Regions from separate parts of the Homo sapiens genome. Here region 2 is linked to region 1. Evidence: promoter capture Hi-C in human tissues and cell types (Jung and others, 2019). All regions are on one chromosome and are shown on one strand. The core of a region is centred on a gene start or on the middle of the fragment in contact, and the rest is flanking DNA. Distances in the headings are between cores, read along the strand shown. Region 1 holds the start of TMC2 (transmembrane channel like 2). Region 2 has its middle 11 kb from the start of STK35.

Region 1 (5,866 bases), core at 2,513-5,012:
CCAGGACTGATGAGATAACTGGCATAGGTGCATTGAAAAGTCTTGCGGCCAGGCACGGAGGCTCACACCTGTAATCCCAGCACTTTGGGAGGCTGAGGCGGGTGGATCACGAGGTATGAGTTTGAGACCAGCCTGGCCAAGATGGTGAAACCCGGTCTCTACTAAAAATACAAAAAATTAGCTGGGCGTGGTGGCAGGCACCTGTAATCCCAGCTACCTGGGAGGCTGAGGCAGGAGAATCACTTGAACTTGGGAGGCAGAGGTTGCAGTGAGCTGAGATCACATCACTGTACTCTAGCCTGGGCAACAGAGCAAGACTCCATCTCAAAAAAAAAAAAAAAAAAGAAAAGAAAAGAAAAGAATAGTCTTGTGTGCTATTTGCGGGAGTGAGCTAAGAGAACCTGTCCTGTATTTATCATAGAGCAGGTTTCCTTAGCCCACTCCTGCCCCAACCTCTTTCTTCTTCTCACTCCCTGTGGAAAAATAGTCTTTGATAAGACAACGTAAAGAAAGACTATTTTTGCATAATTTATCCAGGGTAGGAAGCTAGTCAGTGTTAGCCAGTGAGGTATGATTTGTCTTACAAATGCTCCAGCGCAATGCTCTGGAAGGCAGTAGCCCCCTGTTGCAAAAGGGACGGAGCAAAACAAATATTATCACAGCCATGACCCCTAAGAGAGCTCTAGGACTGAGTTCAGTGCTCAGAAAGGGCAGAGAAGCAGAGATCAAGGCAAGGGATCATGGAGAAGGGTTCCCTGGGGTCCCATAAAGATCAGCTCTATGTTGCTTGAAAGGACTGAATAGGAACGTCATTGTTTGCATCCTCTTCTGAGCTCTCTCTGTGTCCTCAGTCAGCTAATACAATGGTTTTCATTGTGGTAATGAACTGTACCAAGCATACTTCCCAGCACTGTAGATATAATTTGGTGTTACAATTTTTTTTCTGAGCTGTAATTCCTGCTGTAATTTAGTTCTCCAACTGAACGAAATTCACATGGAATGTGGAAAACAAGCCAGAATTTGCCCTTCAATCTTCCCCAGACCTCTTCAACACAGAAAATAAGCTGTTTTTTTCTCTTTCATAATCAGTTTTCAACAGACTCCACATAATGCATAATTTAGGAACTGGAAAGGCAGCTGTCTTGCTAGGAAGGCCTCCAAGCCCAGCACACGCTCTCCTAAATGTAACAGGCCTCCTCCTATGTAGCACCTGACTCGGTCAGAGAATTCACAGTGCAAAACACAGGCCGAGGAGAGGCTGCGGCAGCCCTCCAGTCCCGTGATCTCAACAGTTCAGTGCACTTACCAAATGATACAGGAGGAGGGAGAGTTCTCATCCTTCTTTTCAAGGAACACAGTAACAAACTGTAGCTATTCTGAGAAAAGAACATTGTATTCTTAAACTTTTATTCCCTCCTGGTAGAGTATAAAGGGAAGGATGAGAATATCAGGTCCCGTCGCAGGTGACTCCAGAGGAGATTTAAAATGGAAACCTTCATGGGGCTGGGTTTCAGTTAATTCAATATATTCCCAATGTTTAACTTTACTGCACCCCTTCACCACTTAGATCTGTGAAGTGAAAATTCTGACCAATTTCCTGTGTTCTATGGGAAAGGGAAAACGGCAGCGGCAACGTGGAATATTTCAGTAGGAAAGGGTTTGTGTTGTAGGCAAAATGGTCTTCCATTTCAGTCCTACTAAGGACTACTGCTCACAGGGGAGTCCCGCACAGCACAGCCCTGCAGCAGAGGCAGAGGGAGGCCAGGCTGGGTGCGGAAGGGACGGCATCTGGATGACTACGAGGGGAGTGGGGTGTGGAGAACCAGCCTGAGCATCCTACAGGCAGTGGTCACTACGGGAGCACCGTGGCCCGACCCCCGGGAGGAAGGTTTCTCGTCTGGCCACCCTGGGGCATAGAACTTTCTCACATTTGCTCCTTCATCTTTGGATTGAGATAAAGAGTGGATGAGGCAGGCAGGTGGGGTAGGAAGAAGGGACAGTGGCTGAGGCAAGTTCCGGGATAGGGGCCAGGAAGGGCTGTTGAGATGCCATGGCTGCACCCCCTGCCAGCCTCTGCCCAGCTCTTCCTTGCCTCCTGCTCCTGGGTCTCTCCCCTTGTAACACAGCGGCCTCACTGAAGCTCAGGCTCCCGACAACCAGACAGCAGCGGGTCACAGGAGCGGAAAGGGCAGATGAAGTGGCTCCTGGGGCCAGCTCCCTACTGGCCAGAGTGGGGCCAGGACAGGGCCCTCCCACAGGAGGGAGTGGAAAGGGCCCTCCCTCCCAGAATGGGGGAGGAAGGAGATCTCTTCCAACCCCCCAGAACCCCATCACTCCCCAAGATTCTGGTTTCTTGCCTACTAGTGTGGGGCGCAGGACCCAGCCCTGCCTGGGACGTGAAGGGGGAGAAAACAGCATCGCATCCATAATATTTTGTGACATGAAGATGCCCAGCCTGTGAGTGTGGCTTCTGCCCCTCTCCCCTGAACCCTCAGTCTCAACCAAGGGTTTTCTCTCCCGCCTATGGCTTCCTTGGGCTCTCCCACTTCTCCTGGAGCAAGTTGGCTCCCTCACCGGCTCACGGGAGAGCTGTGGTCACATTCCCAGTGGGAAGGTGATGGAGCACCCATTATGCCTACTACTTTTTGGAGGTTAAGAGTGTTCCTCCTAGAGTCCGGGGGCCTGGATGTGAATCTGGCCACACCACCCGCCAGAAGCCTGCACCGAGCTTCCCTGCCCTCTGTCTGGTGAATGTTCACTGCTTCCCAAGGCTCAGCTCAGAGTGTCACTAACCCTGGGAGTCTCCCCTGACACCGAGGGCTGAGCAGCACCTTCTCTGAGTGGTACTCTGCCCCCTCCCATGTTAAACACCTTGCCTCCCAGGAAGGCTCCATGCAGGGTGTTGAATGAGAGGGAAGGAGATGAAGGAGAATGTTGGATGGGTGGCTGGACTGTTGGGCTAAGCAGAGGGCACCCAGGCACTGCAGGCTCCCCAGAGACCCCACCACCCCATCTCACCTGTGTGTGGAGAGCCGCTCTTCACCCGCCCTTTCACTCCGCCTCGTGCTGTAAGAGACAGGATTGCTGACAAATGGCTGGCCTCTGGTGAGTCCCCCTCCCTGCAGACCCCCGGTCACTGTGGGACCCCTCAGCTGATTTGTGGCTGCCTCAAACTGGGACCCAGCTCCAATGATTTTACTCAGCAAATTATAGAGTCCCCTGCCTGTCACATTTGTCTGATACTGTCAGTCATGAGGTCAGAACATCCCCCACCCCCTGCCCTGCACAGAGACAGAGACAGATAGAAATCTGCTGAGGGGCTTGCTCGGAACAGGCAACCCTAACCGAGACAATAGGTGGCTGAGACGCCCCAGCAGGCTCTGAGGAGCATGCATCGGCCGTGACAGTCTCCAGTGCTGGCCTGAACACAGGTGCTGTGCACAGGTTGTCTTGAATCCTTCCAGTAGCCCTGCAAGGAGGTGATGACTACCCCCATCTCATGCGTGAGGATCAGAGAGGTTGAATAACCAGCCGAGGTCGCTCAGCGCACAGGGGACAGGCCCTGGACTCAAACCCAGCTCCTCCCTATGCCTCTGAACACCATATGTGCTTCCCCCATCCCCTGCTGCTGCCCAGGAACCCTGTGGGCGGGCCCCGCAGGATCAGGACGTGGACTCACCTTCCTCTTTCAGGCCCTTTACCTGGTGGCTCATGGTCAGCAGCACTGCTGGGGTCCTGCACAGGCTCACGCAGCGTGCTCCTGTATGCACGCCTTCAGCCTGGGCTGCTTTCCTGCCCTCATGGTGGCTGGCCTCCCTTCCTAGACCTGACAGCAGGCGGGGCTTCTTGGTTTGAGATTGAATGTGGAGGTGGGTGAAGTTTGGGGGAGAGAGACGGGTGAAGGAAGGCGACGAGTTCCCGGCCCATCAATCCGGCCACACACTCCTCTTCTCAGGTTTCCCTGCAAAGAGGCAGCATGGCCTCATGTTTCAGGCATCAGTTATACATGAGGGGCCCTGGAGGGGCCAGGAGCTGCAGGCTTATCTCCTGGCAATGATGCCGCTGGCACTCTAGCCAGAGGAGGTGTGAGGAGCATCCCAGGCCCTCTCCCACTATCTTGAGTCCCTGATTGGGACAAAGCACCAGGGAAATTCTAGAATGTTTGTTTAAGTTATTACTTGGGCTTCTGTTTAAAATGCAGATTCTGGCATGTGGTGGTTCACACCTGTAATCTCAGCACTTAGGAAGGCAGAGGCAGGAGGATTGCTTGAGCCCAAGAGCTCAAGACCAGCCTGTGCAACGTAGTGAGACCCCATCTCCACAAAAAGAAAAATAATAATAATAAATTTTTAAAAATAAAATGCATACTCCCAGGAGTGGCACTGGGCGTTGGAATCAGTCAGTCTGTGCCAGGCCCTGGGAGCCTGCACTGTGGATCCTGCTGCAGGCGTCCTGAGCCCACACAGATGAATGTTCCCGCTCAGCCCCCGCCCCCTCCCTCAGCAGCTTTTCCTCCCTGGCTTCAGGGAGGCACAGATTTGGCTGCTTTGAAAACCATCACTAAAGTGTCAGAGGGACCCTCTGGAAGGCAGTCATAAGGTCTCAGAGTGTGGAGTTCTTAATCTGGAGTCCCTGGAACCCCCAGAGCTGTGGATGGAATTCTGTGGGTTTGTGAATAGTGATGGAGAAAATACTACACTTTCACTTTTCCTAGCCTTAACTGCGATTTAGCATTTCCCTCAATCATGAATGTAAGCAAAGATGTGATTTTTGTCTCAGCAAAAGTCACAGTTATTTTTTTTCCCAATTAAACCACTGGGGATGTCTCAAAATATCTTACATGTTATCACAACTTCAAAATTATGATAGTTAGAGACCTGCCATGAAATCTTGTTATTTAATTAGGAAGCATATATTGTCATTATATGAAAGATATTTAAAGTGATTTTGATGCCTATTTCAGGATCATTGGTCTCCTTTGTAATCCTAGTGTTTTATTTTATGGATTTAATGTCTATGTTCTGAAAAGCGGTCTGTGGCTGGGCGTGGTGGTTCACGCCTGTAATCCCAGAATTTTGGGAGGCCAAGGCAGACGGATCACCTAGGGTTGGGAGTTCCGGACCAGTCTGGCCAACATGGTGAAACCCCATCTCTACTAAAAATGCAAAAATTAGCCGGGCGTGGTGGGATGTGTCTGTAGTCCCAGCTACTCAGGAGGCTGAGGCAGAATTGCTTGACCCAGGAGGTGGAGGTTGCAGTGAGCTGAGATTGCACCACTGCACTCCCTGGGTGATAGAGTGAGACTCTGTCTCAAAAATAAAAAAAAATATAAAAAGGGGTCTACGGACCTTACCAGGATGCCAAAGGATTCTATGACACAACAGAATAAAAAGCCTTCCCCAGGGCAAGTCTCCTGTGGGTGTCAAGGACAGACCTAGCCTCTGATCATGCCCATGTACTTTCTCAGGGGTCAGGAGTAGGAGTGCCTGTCCTCATGCAAGCTTGGCGAGGGAAGGGGCAAAGGAGCTACCTCTAAAATGCACGTGCAACGGTTCATCTCAAGCTTTGAAGCTTTTCTCTTTGTCCCACACCTTGATCTCCGACCCAACTGGTTCCTGCAGGGCCGCCCCAGTCCCCGGGGCATGAGGGCAGTGGGAGGATCTCAGTTGCATTCTCTGGCATCCATACTGCAGGACTGCAGCCGCAAATCCCTCTCCCCACCAGGGCCATGCCAGTGCAGGACCCCGGTCCATGTGAGAAGCAGCACGGGCAGCTGTGCAGCCACAGGACAGCGTGGCCCAGAGGACTGGTGAGTAAGGTTTCTGCTGGGGGTGCCCCAAGCGCTCTCCCCTGATGAGTGAGGACC
Region 2 (6,389 bases), core at 1,241-3,740, 440 kb after region 1:
AGTGCGACTAATTCAGTAAGTCTCGGGTAGAGCTTGATAATTTGCATTTCTGACACGGTCGCAGATGATGCTGATGTTGACGCTGTTATCCCGGAACCATGCTTTGAGAACCACTACATCACACTGTCATGTTCCTAGACTGAGCACAAAGCAGAGGGAACTGGAGAGGATTTGAGTTCTGGTAAGAATTCGAGGATGAATAGGAGCTGAATGAATTACCTAGGAAACTAAGCAAATAAAACATGAAGCGATTATTAAAGGCAAGAAAACAAAAACAATTGATAAGAAAAACATTGTAATCATCATAAACTACAACACTCAGCTGGAAATAATATTACATTGTCATTGTCATGTAAAACAGCACTTTGACTTAACCAAAAATTATGATATAATTATATTGGGAGACTTGGAGACGGAAAGTGTGTCTGTGTGTATGGTGGAGGGGGAAGAAAAGGAGAGATAACTAAATCCTTATCTTCCATAGCCGTGAGTTAATAAAAAAAAATTTAAATCAAGGAGCGATCCCATAATCAAGTGTGGAAAAATAACTACAGAATTAAAGTTACTGCTTCTGGGATGGGATCAGAGGTGAAACAGGATTTTTGTTATAAGCTTTGTGGTAGTATTTAACTTGTAATGGTATCTAACTCAAACATTATGTCTATTTATCATTTGGATTAAAATTGAAATTAAAACTAAAAGTGGGCATGAGCTTTAGCCACCACTGAAGCAGCCTGTCAGCTTGGTGGCGCTGTTCAGCTTCTGGCCAAGGGGTTCACCTGTCCTCCTTGTATTACCTAAACACATCTGGAGGGCTAACAATAGTACCCTTATCACACTTGGGGAACACTGGATTAGAGACACTGCACCCAGTAATACTCAACAGAGAGGCTTCTTGTCTATTAAATGAGGGTCTCAGTTACAGAAAACAAAGATGGGTGCAGATAACAGCCACCCTGTCTCCAAAACTTAATAGATGGGTCTAATTTCAAGTGTTCTTCCTACTGGCCACTGAAAAGGCTAAGAAATGTCTGACATTTCTTCCTCTCCCATTTGGGAATGGCATACAAATTTTTGTCAGGCTATGTATCTGAATATTTGCTGCAGGAAATTGGTTGCTAAGTTCTTAGGAGTTGTTTATGATTTTTGGAAAGATAAAGGGCTATAATGCCAAATGAGCAGGGCAAAGTCCTTAATTCTGTAACTACTGGGACATTCAAAATAAATTATTGGGGCGTCTGGTTAAAATGTACACAACCATAAGGCAACAAAGTACACTCACTAATCAAAATGTAAAGTGATACAGTCTTTTAGAAAGGCAAATTGATAACTCATTGTTTATTAATATAATTAAAAATTAATACACTTTGATCAGCTATTCCGTTTCTAGGAATTTATCCTATAGAAGTACTCACATGGTGTGGAAAAATATATGTGCAACAAGGATTTTATTGTGGTGAGATATATATATATATATATATAAAATAATAATAAAATATTAGAAACAATACCAAAAGTAGAGGCTTGGTTACACAGGGTCATCATATATTTAAATACATGCCCATCAAAAGAAGGAGTTAGCTCTGTATGTACTACCATACAATACATGTACACAATATTTTGTTACATAAAAAAGCAAATGCAAACAAGCATCTATAATATGACCACATTTTGTTTAAACATGTATACATAATTGCTAACCTTCATTGAGTTACTTCTGTGTATTCTGATGGTTCTAAGTGCTCATATGTAATAATTAATTAATTAATCCAATAAGCCTTAGGGTAGGTTTTATTTTTAGCTCTATTTTCCATAGAAACTGAGGCACAAAGAGGTTATTACTTTTTCAAGGCTATACCACTAAAAAGCGATGGAACTTGGATTCCAACCCTGGTGTATCTGATTCCAAAGCTCTTGATCTTGAACTAGCACATGATACAGCGTTTGTACTTACATGTTAATTTCTGTATACATAATGGAAACATTTGTATAAATAATACTCTAGATGCCAAGAATTCTCCCTAGGTGATTCTTTCACTTTCAGGATAATTTTGTATGATTTGAAGTTTTTATGTGCATATTTGGGTATTAATTTGAGTTCTTTTTTGTAGGTATTTAAAAAAATAAAATTCAGTTTAAAAAACAAGTAACGTACAATAGTGTAGAATGTACTTCATCACTCATTTGGTCAATGAGTACTTATTAAGCCCCTACTGTTTGCCAGACTGGGGACTGAGATGAATTGAACTCAGTTCCTATTGTAGAGGAACTCATTGTTTAGAGAAGACACGAAGAAACATCCAGTCTTGAGTCTTTTCCAGCTCTATCGCACTGTGATGCTGTTTTAGAGTTTGGTTGGTCAGTGAGAAATGAGGCTGAGCCAGTTATCAACACTCACGGTGTGCCTCTTTCAACTAATGGGAACCAGGGTCTGTGTTGGGCTCTGGACTTTATATACTACCTTTCTTTCTTTATAGAAATTATTGTAGGTTCAGCAAACATTTACTATATGTTAGCCCCCGTGTTTGAGTTGGGGATCCTGGGATGAATAAGACAGGGTCCCTGGTGGTAAAATCTCATCATATGGTGAAGAAAACTGATGTGTTTACAAACAGTTAAGTTCTCCCTTGCTGAAAATAATAACTAACATTTAAGAAGCATTTACCAGACACTGTTATAAACACTTCTCAATATAATAATTTATTGAATTCTCAATCCTGTTATTATCTCTACTTGACAGATGAGGAAACAGAGACACAGACAAGTTATGCAGCTTGCTTAAGATCATACAGCTAGGAAATTAGCCGGGCACGGTGGCTCATGCCTGTAATCCCAGCGCTTTGGGAGGCTGAGGCAGGTGGATGACCTGAGGTCAGGAGTTCGAGACCAGCCTGGCCAACATGGTGAAACCCCATCTCTACTAAAAATACAAAAATTAGCCAGCCATTGTGGTGCATGCCTGTAATCCCAGCTACCTGGGAGGCTGAGGCAGGAGAATGGCTTGAACCCAGGAGGTGGAGGTTGCAGTGAGCTGAGATCGTACCACTGCACTCCAGCCAGCCTGGGCGACAGAGCAAGACTCCGTCTCAAAAAAAAAAAAAAAAAAAAAAATTCCCACAACTTGGAAATAGTTCAGGGGAGTCCCACCTGGAGAAGTGCTTAGAGGAGCATAGCCAAAGAGTCCACCCTGTGGTAGAAAAGTCATAATAAAAATAGTATTAACCACCATAACAGTACTTGTCACAAATCATACAAAGCTTTGTGGGATTTAAAGTGCTTTCACCTATTAGACATGTCTCAACATAGGGTGGCCCAAAATGTAAGGTGTCCCTCTCACTTGTCACACTAAGAAGATTGCAGAAGAGAAAATATTTGGGGTCTCAACTTGAATATATAAATTCTTAAGGTGGTATAAATAATCAAATATCTGTGTAATATTTAATTTATTATTTTAGGTACATACACACTTTCAACATTGAGAAATATTGGATTTTCTCCCATTCTTCCATTTCACAAAACAATTCTTTTCATCTCTTTCTGAGCACCTTTGATCTCAGTCACTGGGGATGATTTCTATGTCGCTCAGCCTTCTTTCTAGGTCACATAATTTTCACTCCTATCCAAATTGTGATCCAGTACTTTTTGAGCCTCTATATGATGCTTTCTCTGAAATATTTTATCTTAGAATTCCCAGTGCACTAAATCTTAGGACAGATTGTTTTTCCATTTCTCCCATTGGTTTATATTTGTGATCACAACATCCAAACATTTTATGTATTGCTTTTAAAAGTGCTCTTTCTTAAGGCTTACATCTTTATAAAGTGTGTGAGGTCAGTCCCCAGTGTAATGACTTACATCCATGTCGAAAATTGCTTGCTTTTTTTTTAACTACTTCCTTCAGATGACTTCTATAGATTGGCCTACCTCCAACAATACCTTGTTGTTTAAAAGAAAGTAATTGAGAGAGTCTAGGGAATATGAAAGATTCTGTGAGCTTTTATAAGAACTTAAATATAAGGCAACTCTCTCTTCTAAGAGTTTTTTTGGGGAAAAAACACCTTGAGTTATGTCCAGGTGTATACTGTATGTTAACTTCATTTCATTTCTTTCTTTCTTTCTTTTTTTTTTTGAAACAGGGTCTCACTCTGTCGCCCAGGCTGGGGTGCAGTGGCGTGATCACAGCTCACTGCAGCCTTGACCTCCCTGGGCTCAGGTGATCCTCTTGCCTCAGCCTCCCAAGTAGCTGGGACTACAGGTGCTTACCACCACGCCCAGCTAATTTTTGTAGAGACTGGGTTTTGCCATGTCGCCCAGGCTGGTCTTGAACTCCTGAGCTCAAGCGATTTACCCACCTCAGCCTCCCAAAGTGCTGGGATTACAGGTATGAGCCACCACTCCCGGCCAGACTTTGTTTCTTAAACATTCCAACCAGCCTGTAGAAGTCTGTATGGTGGGCATTATCCCCACTTAACACATGAATAAGGTGAGACTCAGAAGGTGAGGTGCTTTGTCCGAGGTACCCAGCAAGTGGTAGAACTGGGATGCAAATCTAAGCCTGTCTGATTCTCTTGACTCACCTCTTCCATTAAAGCACTGACAAAGTTTCTAAACCACCTTCCTAATTTAGATTGCTGGCCCTCCATAAGTGTGTGAAGCTGTGCTGACAGAATGCTAGCGCTGATTCATTTATTATTCTTTTATTGCCTTATGGTGGTATAGCTGTGTGCAGTATTTCATAAAGAAAATGACAAAGCAATTTGCAAATATAAAACCCAGATGCTTAATTTTAATTTCTGGGTTTCTGTTTCAAATCCATTGCAACACAATGCGTGTTGTTTACACTATAGCTGAAGTCCCCAGTACTTATAAGGATCGGGAAAGTTGCTTTTAGGTCCTGAAGTGATGTATTTGCTTGCGTTTCTTTTGTTCTTGGAAACCAACTCTTTCAGGAATGAAGTGGAAAGAGACAATGGTGCCTTCTTTACAGGTGCAAGGTTCCCTACAGTGGTGTGTGTGCTGGAGTTGGCTCTTCTGTGCTTCTGAGAGCTGACTGTGAGCTTCTCTTTCCAACTCTGTTCAGTGACATCATGCTGGGAGCTTGAAATCAGTCACAGTGAGAGTATTCACACTATGGAAATGGGCAGCCCTACAAATCAAGTCTCCTTCTCTCCCCTCTCTCCTGCAGCCCCTCCCCAAAATGATTTAACCTCCTTGTGCCTTGGGAATAATAAGAGTGCTTCCCTTCTAGGTTATTCTGAAGATTTAGTGAGATAAAGCATGGAAGGCACCTGGCACTACCTGTGTGTTTATGTATTTAAGCAAGTACTGCATACTTGGAGTAGAAAAAATCAAACAAGTAAACAGAAGGTTAGAGTGAGAAGGAAGTTTCCTTCTCATCCCGGACCTCCATTCCAATTCCTATCCTCGAAGGCAAACTATCTCTCTAAATCCTTCCAGAGATGTGCTCTAAGATGTATATATTCTAAATGGGCTCATGTAGCTCTAACTTAATATTTTTAAAGCCTGGTCTATTGTTCCATTTTTGGATGCACCAGGGTTTGTTTAACCAGCCCTCTATGGATGCCATTTAGGTTGTTTCCTATCTCTTTCCAGTAAAAATTATGGGCACTGAACAACTTTGTCTTTTGCAAATAAACATGAGTGTATCTATAGGCTCCATTCCTAGAAATAGAACTATTAGGTCAAAGGTTATGAGCATCTTAATTCTGGTTTGATTATCAAATTGCTTTCTAGAGGCCATGCCAATTCACTCTCCACAGTGTAGGCAAGTGCTGGAGTCTCCACAGTCTTGGGACATTGTCTAACTTTTTGATCTGTGTCATCTGATCATTTTTGGCACCTAAGACAGGTAAATGATTCTCATTATTATTATTGATGGAGAAACCCGGGTGCAGGGAGGAAAGGGAGTTGCCCCACACCACCCATATCCAGGCTTCTGCACACAAAGCAAAGAAATGATAGTTGAGGCTGATGCCATTAGCCCTGCCAGGAAGTGGGGAGTAATCCTTGAGCCCTGGGCAGTTGGAAATTCTATGAACTTGCTTTGCAGGCTCTTTATCATCCCTGTTTTTCTTGAGTGCAATTTCTCAGGAACATGAAGGATCAAGAAGGTGTGAAGCTCTGGTGCTCTGAGAAGCTTCAGTACGGCTTGTTCTCTACTATAACAGACAACTTCCTGAAATACAGATGCCATTTCTCTCTTCAGAACTTTCTGTGGCTCCACATTTCTCAAAGTTCCTGGACCAGCAGCACCTGGGAACTGGTTAGAAATGTGTATTTTTGGCTGGGCGCTGTAGCTCACGCCTGTAATCCCGGCACTTTGGGAGGCTGAGGTGGGCTGGTCTTGAGGTCAGGAGATCGAGACCATC

Evidence for each region. Contacts are between HindIII fragments. The study calls those that stand out against the background at their distance.
Region 2: a fragment that was not itself captured here is called in contact with the fragment with the promoter of TMC2 in region 1 in 2 of the 25 tissues and cell types used here (aorta and spleen).

Annotation. Positions count from the first base shown.
Region 1 is chr20:2,534,469-2,540,334 of GRCh38, reverse strand. It overlaps TMC2 (transmembrane channel like 2), which reads right to left and starts at 3,762. Exons shown (of 20, transcript NM_080751.3): 1 at 3,680-3,762; 2 at 3,019-3,066. The coding sequence starts at 3,713. It overlaps LOC105372504 (a long non-coding RNA gene), which reads left to right. Exons shown (of 3, transcript XR_937204.3): 3 at 5,725-5,807. The HindIII fragment of the contact is 10,824 bases long and covers 1-5,866 here.
Region 2 is chr20:2,087,740-2,094,128 of GRCh38, reverse strand. No RefSeq gene overlaps it. Among named protein-coding and RNA genes, the nearest start is that of STK35, 11 kb to the left of the region's middle. The HindIII fragment of the contact is 4,435 bases long and covers 273-4,707 here.